4 separate regions of the Homo sapiens genome follow, and regions 2, 3 and 4 are each linked to region 1. Evidence: promoter capture Hi-C in 16 types of primary human blood cells and fetal thymus (Javierre and others, 2016). All regions are on one chromosome and are shown on one strand. Each heading gives the region's core, a stretch centred on a gene start or on the middle of the fragment in contact. The rest is flanking DNA. Distances are from core to core; before and after follow the strand shown.

Region 1 (2,700 bases), core at 75-2,574:
TCACACCTATTAATTTTAATTGGAGATCAGGTGATTGATCTGTCAGACCCCACAGAAATGTGATTATCTTTAGTTCCGGGACTATATTTATTCATCTTTGTACCTCAGAAACTTACTCCAATGTTTCACACACGAATTTGATAATTGTTCGCTAAATAAGTACTGAATAAGAATAACTTATTGAAATATTCAATCTCAAATGTTATGACAAAGATAAAAACCATACCTAAACCAGTTCTCATAAATAAACTCAACACTTAAAAACTGCATTCCTTTTAGTAGGAAAAAGCATTCTGAGTTATAGAAATTCTTACCTGAATATATTTCTTGCTATAATTGTAACCTGGCTGTAGGGATCCGAAATCTACTTTATGTAATTTACTCAGCGGCTGAACTTCAGGCACCCCATTGACTTCCTTTATTAATTCAAGTGGCATATCAGTTCTGCTTCACACTGATGTCCAAAGCAAATTCAACTAGGGAATCTGACAACTTGCTGCTGAAAATACAAAACCAGTGTTTTACCCAAAATGAAGTCAATAATTTGCTTTAAGTCTCTTTGACTTAGTTATGCTTTTCCTTATTATAGTTAACACGGTTCGGGGTTGGGGGGTGACAGGAGGATGGATTATTTTACAATTTTATTGCAAAGATCAATACAAAACATTCTTCCAAGGAACTGAAACTTAACCATTTTCTACTTAGCTGCGTAAAGTACCTCCAAAAAGCCAGTTTTAAGATCTGTAACGTCACTAACAAACGCTTTTAACATTGTGCTTTAAAATGTAAAATTTATTGGGGAAGAGGGAGGCTGAAAAATCGTGTTTTTTTTTAACCCCCACGGGAGCTGTAATATTGTATAGACAAACTGTGCACCAAAAGCATCGTACTCCAACATGTTTCTGTGGCCCCCTCCCTTCACCCGCTAAATAAATGAAGAAACAAAAATTACTGAACTGAGATTAACTTCTGCATCGTAGGCTCAACCTTATTTCACAGACCTCTTGACGGGGACACTCACTAGTGTCGATATCTAATTTTAATGTTTGCGCACCAACCTTCCCCCAAGCCACCTGAGCTCTGTGAGGGCGGGGACTTGGACTTAACTCCTGTCTGCTTCTCCCAAAACACCAAGAAAGATGCTGAACACAGCAGGCTCGAGATAAACACTCGTAAGAAAGCGTTTCTCTGCGATAATTACATCAAATTTTGATCTAAACTAATTCAATCCCGGGCCCGTTACGTCTGGCACCCACTCAAATGAACACACCAAACCTTACAAATTTCACTCACCCGTACTCTAGAAAGAACCCTAGGAAGAGTTTAGGCGGGCGCGCAGGTGACGTCACACGCACGCTGACGGTTCAGCTCCACGCATGCGTGCAGGATCCCTGGGCATAGTCGCTTGTTCTCCGCCCGCGGTGGACCAGCTGCGTAACGGTTCACACACTGATGGCGCCTGGAGGTTTGGCGAAATACTGACAGGATGCGACGTCAACGGGAGCGCAGGGCCAAGGTACAGGCCCCGCCCAGTCCGGTCACATCCCCCGGAATTCTCGCAGCTCCCCTTAGCTCCGCCCCCAGTGACTTTCCAGCTTTCGTGGCGGGAGGCAAGCTTAGGGGAAGCGGGCGGGTCCGCTGGGCGGGATTTGAGCTTCCCTTTGGTAGATTCGAAGCTCCTGTAGGCAGAGCCTTTCTTTTAATGTCCAGTTCTCTTCCTCCAAGAAATAGGCACCTACTGCAGTCTTTACAAGGAAGCATTTACAAGGATAACAATGTTATTTGGGAGTTTTTATAGTAATTTCGGGCATTGGCATAATGCCACCATTGAGTCTTGCTATTTACAGACAGATTTGATTAACCTTGTCATTGTTTTATAGGGCCATGATTTTGTGGTATAATTAATATTTATTATAATTTATTTTATAGGTTTATTATAGTTTATTTAATATTTATTATAACTTATAATTGATAAATATTATAATTTATCATTTATAATGATAAATTGTTAAACATGAATTCTCTGCTAATTCCAGATATATGCCTTCAATCATTTAAGTGAAATCATCCTAGTGTGAAACTAAATGTAATAAAGAATTACATGAATATTTCCAAGGCTAATTTGAACTAAAATATCTTCTTTATATACATATTTGCAGGAGGATATAGCTAACTTTTTTTTTTTTTTTGAGACGGAATCTCGCTCTGTCACCAGGCTGGAGTGCAATGGCGCAATCTCGGCTAACTGCAACCCCCACCTCCCGGGTTCAAGCAATTCTTCTGCCTCAGCCTCCCTAGTAGCTGGGATTACAGGCGCAGGCCACCATGCCTGGCTAATTTTTGTATTTGTTTAGTAGAGACGGGGTTTCCCATTTTGGCCAGGCTGGTCTCGAACTCCTGACCTTGTGATCCGCCCACCTTGGCCTCCCAAAGTGCTGGGATTACAGACATGAGCCACTGTGCCCAGCCAGCTATGTTTGAAGTGCCTTTTTAATCAACAGGAAGCATTCAGTATTAGCCCATCTCCTGTTTCCCCTCCCCATCCCTGTAGTTATATCCCACGCAGAAGCCGGGGTGACAAGTGCATGAACTCAGGAGCTGTCCATTTGAGGAAAACTATAGGGAAGGTTTAGATGCTATCCTCCTTCCATCTCTGGCTGCATCCGGCTGAGAAATACTATTCCTCCTTTTTATGTGAAG
Region 2 (2,700 bases), core at 92-2,591, 1.2 Mb before region 1:
GCTGACCTGTCTGTTGCACCCTTGCAACATATTTTCATACTGTCTCTAAGAAATCTGCCTTTCTGTAGTTACAACTGTCTTGGTAAATTCTTTTTACCACCCAAGCCACCAGCCAGATAGTCACTAGTCACTGCTCACCTGTGACAGGAACCTCCCAACCCACCTTTCCCTCAGTCTGTGACAAAGGCCTATCCATTGAGTTCCCATAGTGCCTAGGAACCTTCATTATACCAGTTACTGTATTATAATCTGTTCACTTAGGTCTTCTCAGCAGACTGTCAACTCCTTGAAGATAGGGCCCTGTCTTATTTCTATACTCACCTAGCACAAAATATATGGTTACCCCCAAACCTGTTTCCCAACAACCAGTTTATCATATAAGAATTAAAATCAGTTCAGTAACGTGTTTGATCTATTTAACTAAACCAGGGTAAAGGGGTAACACACTTTACAATGACTTCTATCAAAACCATTATTTAAATCATTAATTCAAATCTTCAGAATCTTAAAATTATCCAAAATTACTCGAATATTTTGGTCATCAAGAAAAATACACACTCATTAAATAAAGCACAGTTCAGCTATACAAATAGGATACCATACAGCTGCAAAAAAAAAAAAAAAAAGTTGTTATTCAAGTAATGATAAGATGAACAAGATACACTGTTATCTGAATAAAAGGCAAGATGTAAAAGTAAGGGTAGCATATACTAACGTCTGTACACAATACCACAAACAAGAATAAATAACTTACATTTGCCTATGTATGCACAGAACCTTCTGAAGAACAGACAAAACTAGTAACAGTTGTTTAAAGGTTCTGTGTGTGGACAGGTATTTTGTTGGAGAAGAAATGACTAGGCAAATGAAGGACTGGATAAATGAGAAACATCACTTTCTTTTCACACTGTGGGATTTTTTTTTTTTTTTTTTGAGATGGAGTCTCATTCTCTCGCCCAGGCTGGAGTACAGTGGCACAATCTTGGCTCACTGCAAGCTCCGCCTCCTGGGTTCATGCCATTCTCCTGCCTCAGCCTCCTGGTAGCTGGGACTACAGGTGCCTGCACACTGTGGGATTTTTAAACCATGTGGATGTATTGGCTTTCCAAAAATTAAAAATTGATTTAAAATATATACACGTTAAAAAAAAAAGACCTACTCAAATCACATTATGGTGCAAGTCTGAAACAAACAAACAAAAATAACCTTTCTGACCTAGAAACAGTAACCTAGCAAGAATTTTGAGTAGCTCTTTAGCTTCCCCCTAAAAAATTAAAAATAAACATTGCTGAATAACATACTACAGTGCCTAGGGGCTTAAACTAATAAAAAGCAAACTCTGGCTACTATAGGGAGATAGCCAGTCTATAATGAACAACAAAGTCTTTGATTTCTTTTACAAACTTACTCTTGCAGTCTTTCAAACTCTTAAACATGATTAATAAAAATAAGCAAATTAAAATTTTTTGTCTTCCATATTTGTTATTCTATATTCAGCAATTCAATGATCTAATAAGCATTTAAGGACAGTCACAGGGATGTACATATACTTTATATAAATAAGCACTTTTAGTTTGCTTGACTGACATGTACAATCAAGGTGGGCAAAAAACGTGCAAAAGGTAGGTTACTTTGAGAGCCATTTTATTTAAATATGAGCTTTTGAAGGCATAAGGTAAAGGTAAGGGCTTTGTAACAAGTAACAGTTTAAATTCAACATACAACCTAAGGACTTAAAGTACAACATTTGAGACTCTCATGTACATTACACACAAGAGCTAGATAGCATCCACCCCAAAAAACAAACAAACGAACAACAACAACAAAAAACCCCACCAAAGAATCCAAGAACCTTTCTCAAGTTTTGTTTTTAAGATTTACATTTTATTCACAATTTAAGAGACTTAAGGCTGGGTGTGGTGGCTCACATCTGTAATTTCAGCACTTTGGGAGGCCAAGGAGAGTGGATCACCTGAGGACCAGCATGTCCAACATGATGAAACCCTGTCGCTACTAAAAACACAAAATTTGGTCAGGCGTGGTGGCGGGCGCCTGTAGTCCCAGTCCCAGCTACTCAGGAGGCTGAGGCAAGAGAAATGCTTGAACCCAGGAGACAGAGGCTGCAGTGAGCTGCGATTGAGATTTAATAAATGTTCTCTATTTTTTAGAATGTATAAATTAATTGGGAATGATTTCACTTTGAGTCCACACAGATCTTTTACACTGTTACTGTCCTCTCTAGGTAAGCTCCAAAGCTGGGTGGCTTTGGGGGTGGGGGCAGGGGCAGGCGGGAGGGTACTGTTAGTTTCTGGACTCATCTTGCTTTTGCTCTCTGGAGCTGTACTGTTTAATAAGGTCACCACTAGCCACAATGGCTATTCAAATATGTTAAAAATGTTGTCTCTCAAAGTCACACCTGCTACATTTCAAGTGCGCAATAATCACAGATGTCTACCATATTGGACAGCATCATAAAAAGTTCTATTGGACAATAATGCTCTGGAAAGTCCTAGGGATAATCTCATGCAAATAATTTATTAGAACAAGATATGGAATTTATAAGGTCAACAGAAGGTCAAAGTTGGGATAACTACACAAAGGAATGTTCCTAATAAAAATAATTTAAAGAATCGTATTTATTCACAAAATGTCTGGCTAACCTAGAGACTAAATCTGAACAGGGTATTAATTCAATTAACA
Region 3 (2,700 bases), core at 135-2,634, 1.3 Mb before region 1:
AAAGTAAATTTACCATATAACCCAGTAATTCTGCTCCTACATATCTACTCAAAATAAATGAAAACCTGAGGTTACTCAAACACTTGCATGTAAATGTTCATAGAAACTTTATTCATAGATAAAAGGTAGAAACCCAAAGCTAGAAACAACCCAAATATTCACCAGCTGCTGAAGGTATAATCAGAATATCATGTACTATACATGTATTGATAAATGTATTTTTGTATGCATTAATATTTTTAATAGATTTTACATATCTATAAAATGGTGTTATATTTATGGAGTCCTATAAACTATGGATTTATTTTAACATATACACAACAATATGCTCATATATAATTTCTTTTTTTAATTTGTGCAAATGTATGGAGTACATAAGAAAATTTGTTGTATATATATAATATGTAGTGATTAAGTCATATATATAATTTCAAATTAGCATCTCTTCCATTTTCAGGCCAGATACAAATCTGGGCTCAGATTCTAGCTCTCTCACTTCTTAGCTCTGTGCTCCCATGCTAGTAACTTAACCTCTCTGAGTGTGTACTAGTTAAGTACAGGCACTAATGTACACCTTACAGGACTGTAGAATTAAAGGAGATAATGCTTAACACTGGAATGGCATAATGTCAGTCCTTAATAAATCATATCCAGTATTATTATTTGTATTTTTCGAGTTTCATTTGCAAGTCTAGATTTTTACTAGTAATCATGGTGAGTAGGAAGAAGCATTTCGTTCAGTGGAGAAAGACACCTCTCTGTACTTTCAGCTCTCCAACTTCTGACGTTTCACTTAATCTCTGAGAGCCTCAGTTGCCAACATCTATAAATGAGAATCATGTTATTCATCTCACAGTATTTATGATTAGAAAAACTTATTGAAGTGCTTTGTAAACTGCAAAGTAGGATAAAATTATGAAATACTATATTATTATGACCTTTTGTCCCCATCAATACCACCTACAGTATGTTTATAGAAGAACCAAAATAACTACCCATGGAGTATTGTGGAGACATTTCTCAACCCTAAGATTATAATGAAAGAATCTTTTCATGGCCATGGAGGTGGTGGCAAGTCATTTTCAAAATAAATTTTATTTCCCTGTTGTTTGAATACAAAGTGAGAAGAACTGTGTTACTCCTTATCTGAAACACTCTGCCTGTCCTCATGAGCTATCAGACTCAGCTAAATATGGCCCTGGCCAGTATGTTAATAATCCCCACTGGTTCTGAGACCTCCATCCACCACCGATGTGACATTCTTTGTGTTCAAATGTCTAGCTGACGTCTGATGCTTAAAACAGCCCATGCCTTCACCCCTCTCTGCATTGTCACAGCCCTGTATCACCACTCTTAAAAGGCTCCCACAGCCACTCCTAGCACCAGTTGTTGACCAGCCTGCCACTTGCCTCCCTGCCTGCTTCTGGCCGCCTTGAATGCCTGGTCCTTCAAGCTCCTTCTGGGTCTGACAAAGCAGGGACCATGTCTACCTTTGGCTACCGAAGAGGACTCAGTAAATACGAATCCATCGACGAGGATGAACTCCTCGCCTCCCTGTCAGCCGAGGAGCTGAAGGAGCTAGAGAGAGAGTTGGAAGACATTGAACCTGACCGCAACCTTCCCGTGGGGCTAAGGCAAAAGAGCCTGACAGAGAAAACCCCCACAGGGACATTCAGCAGAGAGGCACTGATGGCCTATTGGGAAAAGGAGTCCCAAAAACTCTTGGAGAAGGAGAGGCTGGGGGAATGTGGAAAGGTAGGCTCTCGGGACTTTTCCTTGGCTAACCCCACCTCCCCATCACCCCATCCCAAACCCAGACACTTGTTTTCCCTAACTTCTCAATCCTCATCACTTGAATTTTCCTATAACCCATTTATACTTGCTACTAAATCATTTTTCAGGCTGAAATAATCATGTAAATGCTATGGCCACCCAATGGATCATAATATGTAAAATTCTTAATTGGGGCTCTTTGATTGATTACAAATAGAAAGCTCAAGAGGAAAATAATTCACAATCAGTGTATGGGATTCAATATTTTGCCAAACATAAGTGTTGTTTGAGCTATATGTTGGTAATGTGGCATAATATTTGTTCCCAAGATACATGCATACGTATAAATGTATACTTTTTTTTCAGTTAAGTACATTTATTTTCTCCTATAAAGACAAAAGTGGGAACGCTGGTTGCTTTGACTGTGATAGTAGCTATGGTGAAATAGTTCTTTTCCAATACCAAGAAGTGTGGGGTGGTGGGAAGTACATGACACTGAGAGTCACAGGGCCTTGTTATGAGTCCCTGCTCTGTTCCCACATCTTTAGACCTTGAACAATCACTTTTACAGGGTTCTCTTTCCCTCTGGACATTGAGGGAGTTAGAGACAGTGTTTCTTTTGCGAATCAAGAACCCCTTTGAGATTTTGATAAGTTATGAACCTTCTTAAGAAAATAGCCCTGGGCTTGTGCAAAATACACCAACTTTTGCATAGAATTTCAAAATGATAACACATCCTGAAACCCATCTGAGGACTCAGGGGCAGCACAGCTGTATAGATGATCTCTTCGATTTCTGTCTCCTTTACGATGGTGATCCTGAGGTTAGGAAATGTGCTTATATCAGAGCTCAGGCCTATAAAGCTCTTGTGTACTGCCCAGTAAACAGTTATTTTGAATTTGCCAAATGAGTCAATACCAGAAGGAA
Region 4 (2,700 bases), core at 12-2,511, 1.2 Mb before region 1:
ATACATGTCCCATGGTGGTTTGCTGCACCCATCAACCCGTCGTCTACATTAGGTATTTCTCCTAATGCTATCCCTCCCCTTGCCCCCCACCACCCCCCACAGGTCCCAGTGTGTGATGTTCCCCTCCCTGTGCCCATATGTTCTCATTGTTCAACTCCCACTTATGAGTGAGAACATGCGGTGTTTGATTTTCTGTTCCTGGAATTACACTGATTTTAAAATGTTGAAACAGGCTTGCATTCCTGGGATAAACCCCAGTTGATCATGATATATGATCCCTTTTTAAATATTGCTTAATTCCAATTGTTGATAATCTGTTAAGGGTTTTTGTGCCTATAAAATATTGGTCTAAGAGGATAGATCTCCTCTTCCAGCTCTAACAGCTGAAGGACTTTTCTGATGCTGATTTCCCAGATTTCCAAGTAATTCCAATTCCTCCACGCCCTGACTCTAAACACTGTCATTTCATGTTGAGCTCCCTTATAGTGACCACTGTTAAGATCATCATCTCCCCCAATGCAAAGATCTGCCTTCTGAACCAGAACTTTTCCACAGTGCCTGAAGCTGCACATGCCACCAGTTCCTGTTCATTCCCAGTGGTGAACTGATTTTCAGTTATTTCCCAGATGGTCATAGTGTTCTGTATCCTAATGTAGTTAGCACTCTCTCAACATGGAATTCAGTAATTCTTTGATAGCCTAGGAATTCTTCAAGTGGCAATAAAGGTAACTCAAGCACCCATTAGGTCTGGCATCTCTGTACTCACTGAGCGAAGCACTTTGCTCTTCCTAAGGCCTTCTGCTTTGCTGCGCTCTACATTTCCTTGTTTCCTTTTGCTCCATCAGTGATTCTGAGTCCCTTCTTGCCTATATACATCGTTTTGTTTTCTCCATTGGCTCTTTCTGGTCAATGTATAAATATGTTCAGATATCTCTCAAATTAAAAACTATTTTCATTAAAATAATCAATTTAAATAAGTAAATACCCTGACTGTTACTAATTCGTATCTTTCCTCTTCACAGACAACCTTCTAAAAACAGTAATCTATACTCATTGTCTACTTTCCTTTCTCTTTCACTCATCAAGCAATGTGAGCTTGTTTCCATCCCCAATATTTTAATATTGGGGGTGACATCTAATATTTAATGTGACATTTTTGTCACATAACTAAATGTGAATTGGACATTTTCTTCTTTGCAAGCTCTCTACCATCAATCAATATGGTGTCTATCGGTCCTATGTAGGGTGTCTCTATCCTGCTTATATGATCACTCATTTGCCATTCTCTATGGCTCTGCATCTTAAATATTAATTCCACCCAGAGTTCTATCATTTTGCCTCATTTATTTGGCCTTGAATAGAATAGGGGTCCCCAGAAGATTTAGTGAATAGGTGAATTTTAATTTTTTTTTTTTTTTTTTTTGAGACAGAGTCTCGCTCTGTTGCCCAGGCTTGAGTGCAGTGGCGCGATTTTGGCTCACTGCAAGCTCCGCCTCCCGGGTTTACCCCATTCTCCTGCCTCAGCCTCCCCAGTAGCTGTGGCTACAGGCACCCACCACCACACCCGGCTACTTTTTTGTATTTTTACTGGAGATGGGGTTTCACCATGTTAGCCAGGATGGTCTCAGTCTCCTGACCTCGTGATCTGCCTGCCTCGGCCTCCTGAAGTACTGGGATTACAGGTGTGAGCCACCGCACCCAGACAGGTGAATTTTAACTTTCTAATCCGATTCATCAGAATAATATAAGGTAGCATTACCGAGCACTTACGACATGCCTGACACCATGTTGAATGCTTTAGATACGTTTCCATTTAATTCTTTAGTGGTTTATAAGAGATATTATTAACAGCACGTTTCAGATTTAGAAAACTTGCACAAGGTCAATGAGAGAGGCAACTCCAATCTGAGTCTTTTGACAGCAGAGCCTGTGTTCTTAACAGTGACACTATTAATGTCGACAGCTTTTATTGCCCTCTTTGTGATTCCCAGGTATTTCTCCAAACCTCTCTTCTGAGGTCTGGACTATAGCTACAACTGATAAGTTCCTCAAAGTCATTGTGTACACATCTGTACTCACGATCTTTGTTTAAAATCTTTTCTGTGTTTCCTATCTCAGTGTTTAATACCACCACACTCTCTTTTCCAATTAGAAACCTCAAAAACCATCTTGTCCTCCTATTGCTCACATTGTTCCTGCCCTCTAATCTTCAGTCACCACCTCCCGTCAATTTTATCTCCTATTATCCCTCCACCACCACTTCCTTTTCATCTCTTCTGCCTGTGCCCTAAATCAAGCATCCTTCACTACCTCACTTCTCTCGCCAGTTTTATTCTCACAATTCACCCAGCACATCATTGCCAGCATGCAAGTGAGAATCTGATCATGTTACTTTCTCTCCTAAAAATTCTTCAGAGGCTCCTCATTGTTTGCAATATTGTGTCTGGAATTGGTGGGTTCTTGGTCTCACTGACTTCAAGAATGAAGCCACGGACCCTCGCGGTGAGTGTTACAGTTCTTAAAGGCAGCGTGTCTGGAGTTTGTTCCTTCTGACATTTGGATGTGTTCAGAGTTTCTTCCTTCTTTCTGGTGGGTTCGTCCTCTAGTTGGCTTCAGGAGCAAAGCTGCATACCTTCCCGGTGAGTATTACAGCTCATAAAGGAATTGAGGACCCAAAGAGTGAGCAGTAGCAAGATTTAT

Evidence for each region. Contacts are between HindIII fragments. The CHiCAGO score rates a contact against its expected background, and 5 or more counts as called.
Region 2: a contact is called between a fragment that was not itself captured here and the fragment with the promoter of POT1 in region 1, in 1 of 17 cell types (total CD8 T cells). The highest score is 6.0, in total CD8 T cells.
Region 3: a contact is called between the fragment with the promoter of LMOD2 here and the fragment with the promoter of POT1 in region 1, in 1 of 17 cell types (total B cells). The highest score is 6.4, in total B cells.
Region 4: a contact is called between a fragment that was not itself captured here and the fragment with the promoter of POT1 in region 1, in 1 of 17 cell types (non-activated CD4 T cells). The highest score is 6.1, in non-activated CD4 T cells.

What each region holds. Positions count from the first base shown.
Region 1 is chr7:124,928,501-124,931,200 of GRCh38, forward strand. POT1 (protection of telomeres 1) reads right to left here and starts at 1,325. Exons shown (of 19, transcript NM_015450.3): 1 at 1,294-1,325; 2 at 315-499. It overlaps POT1-AS1 (POT1 antisense RNA 1), which reads left to right and starts at 1,373. Exons shown (of 8, transcript NR_125719.1): 1 at 1,373-1,516. RefSeq lists enhancers at 1,261-1,560, 1,315-1,609. The HindIII fragment of the contact is 3,988 bases long and covers 1-1,613 here.
Region 2 is chr7:123,719,736-123,722,435 of GRCh38, forward strand. The region is part of intron 1 of WASL (WASP like actin nucleation promoting factor); the gene reads right to left. Among named protein-coding and RNA genes, the nearest start is that of WASL, 28 kb to the right of the region's middle. The HindIII fragment of the contact is 5,627 bases long and covers 1-2,700 here.
Region 3 is chr7:123,654,482-123,657,181 of GRCh38, forward strand. LMOD2 (leiomodin 2) reads left to right here and starts at 1,385. Exons shown (of 3, transcript NM_207163.3): 1 at 1,385-1,755. The coding sequence starts at 1,483. The HindIII fragment of the contact is 9,966 bases long and covers 1-2,700 here.
Region 4 is chr7:123,759,817-123,762,516 of GRCh38, forward strand. No RefSeq gene overlaps it. Among named protein-coding and RNA genes, the nearest start is that of WASL-DT, 12 kb to the left of the region's middle. The HindIII fragment of the contact is 5,775 bases long and covers 1-2,700 here.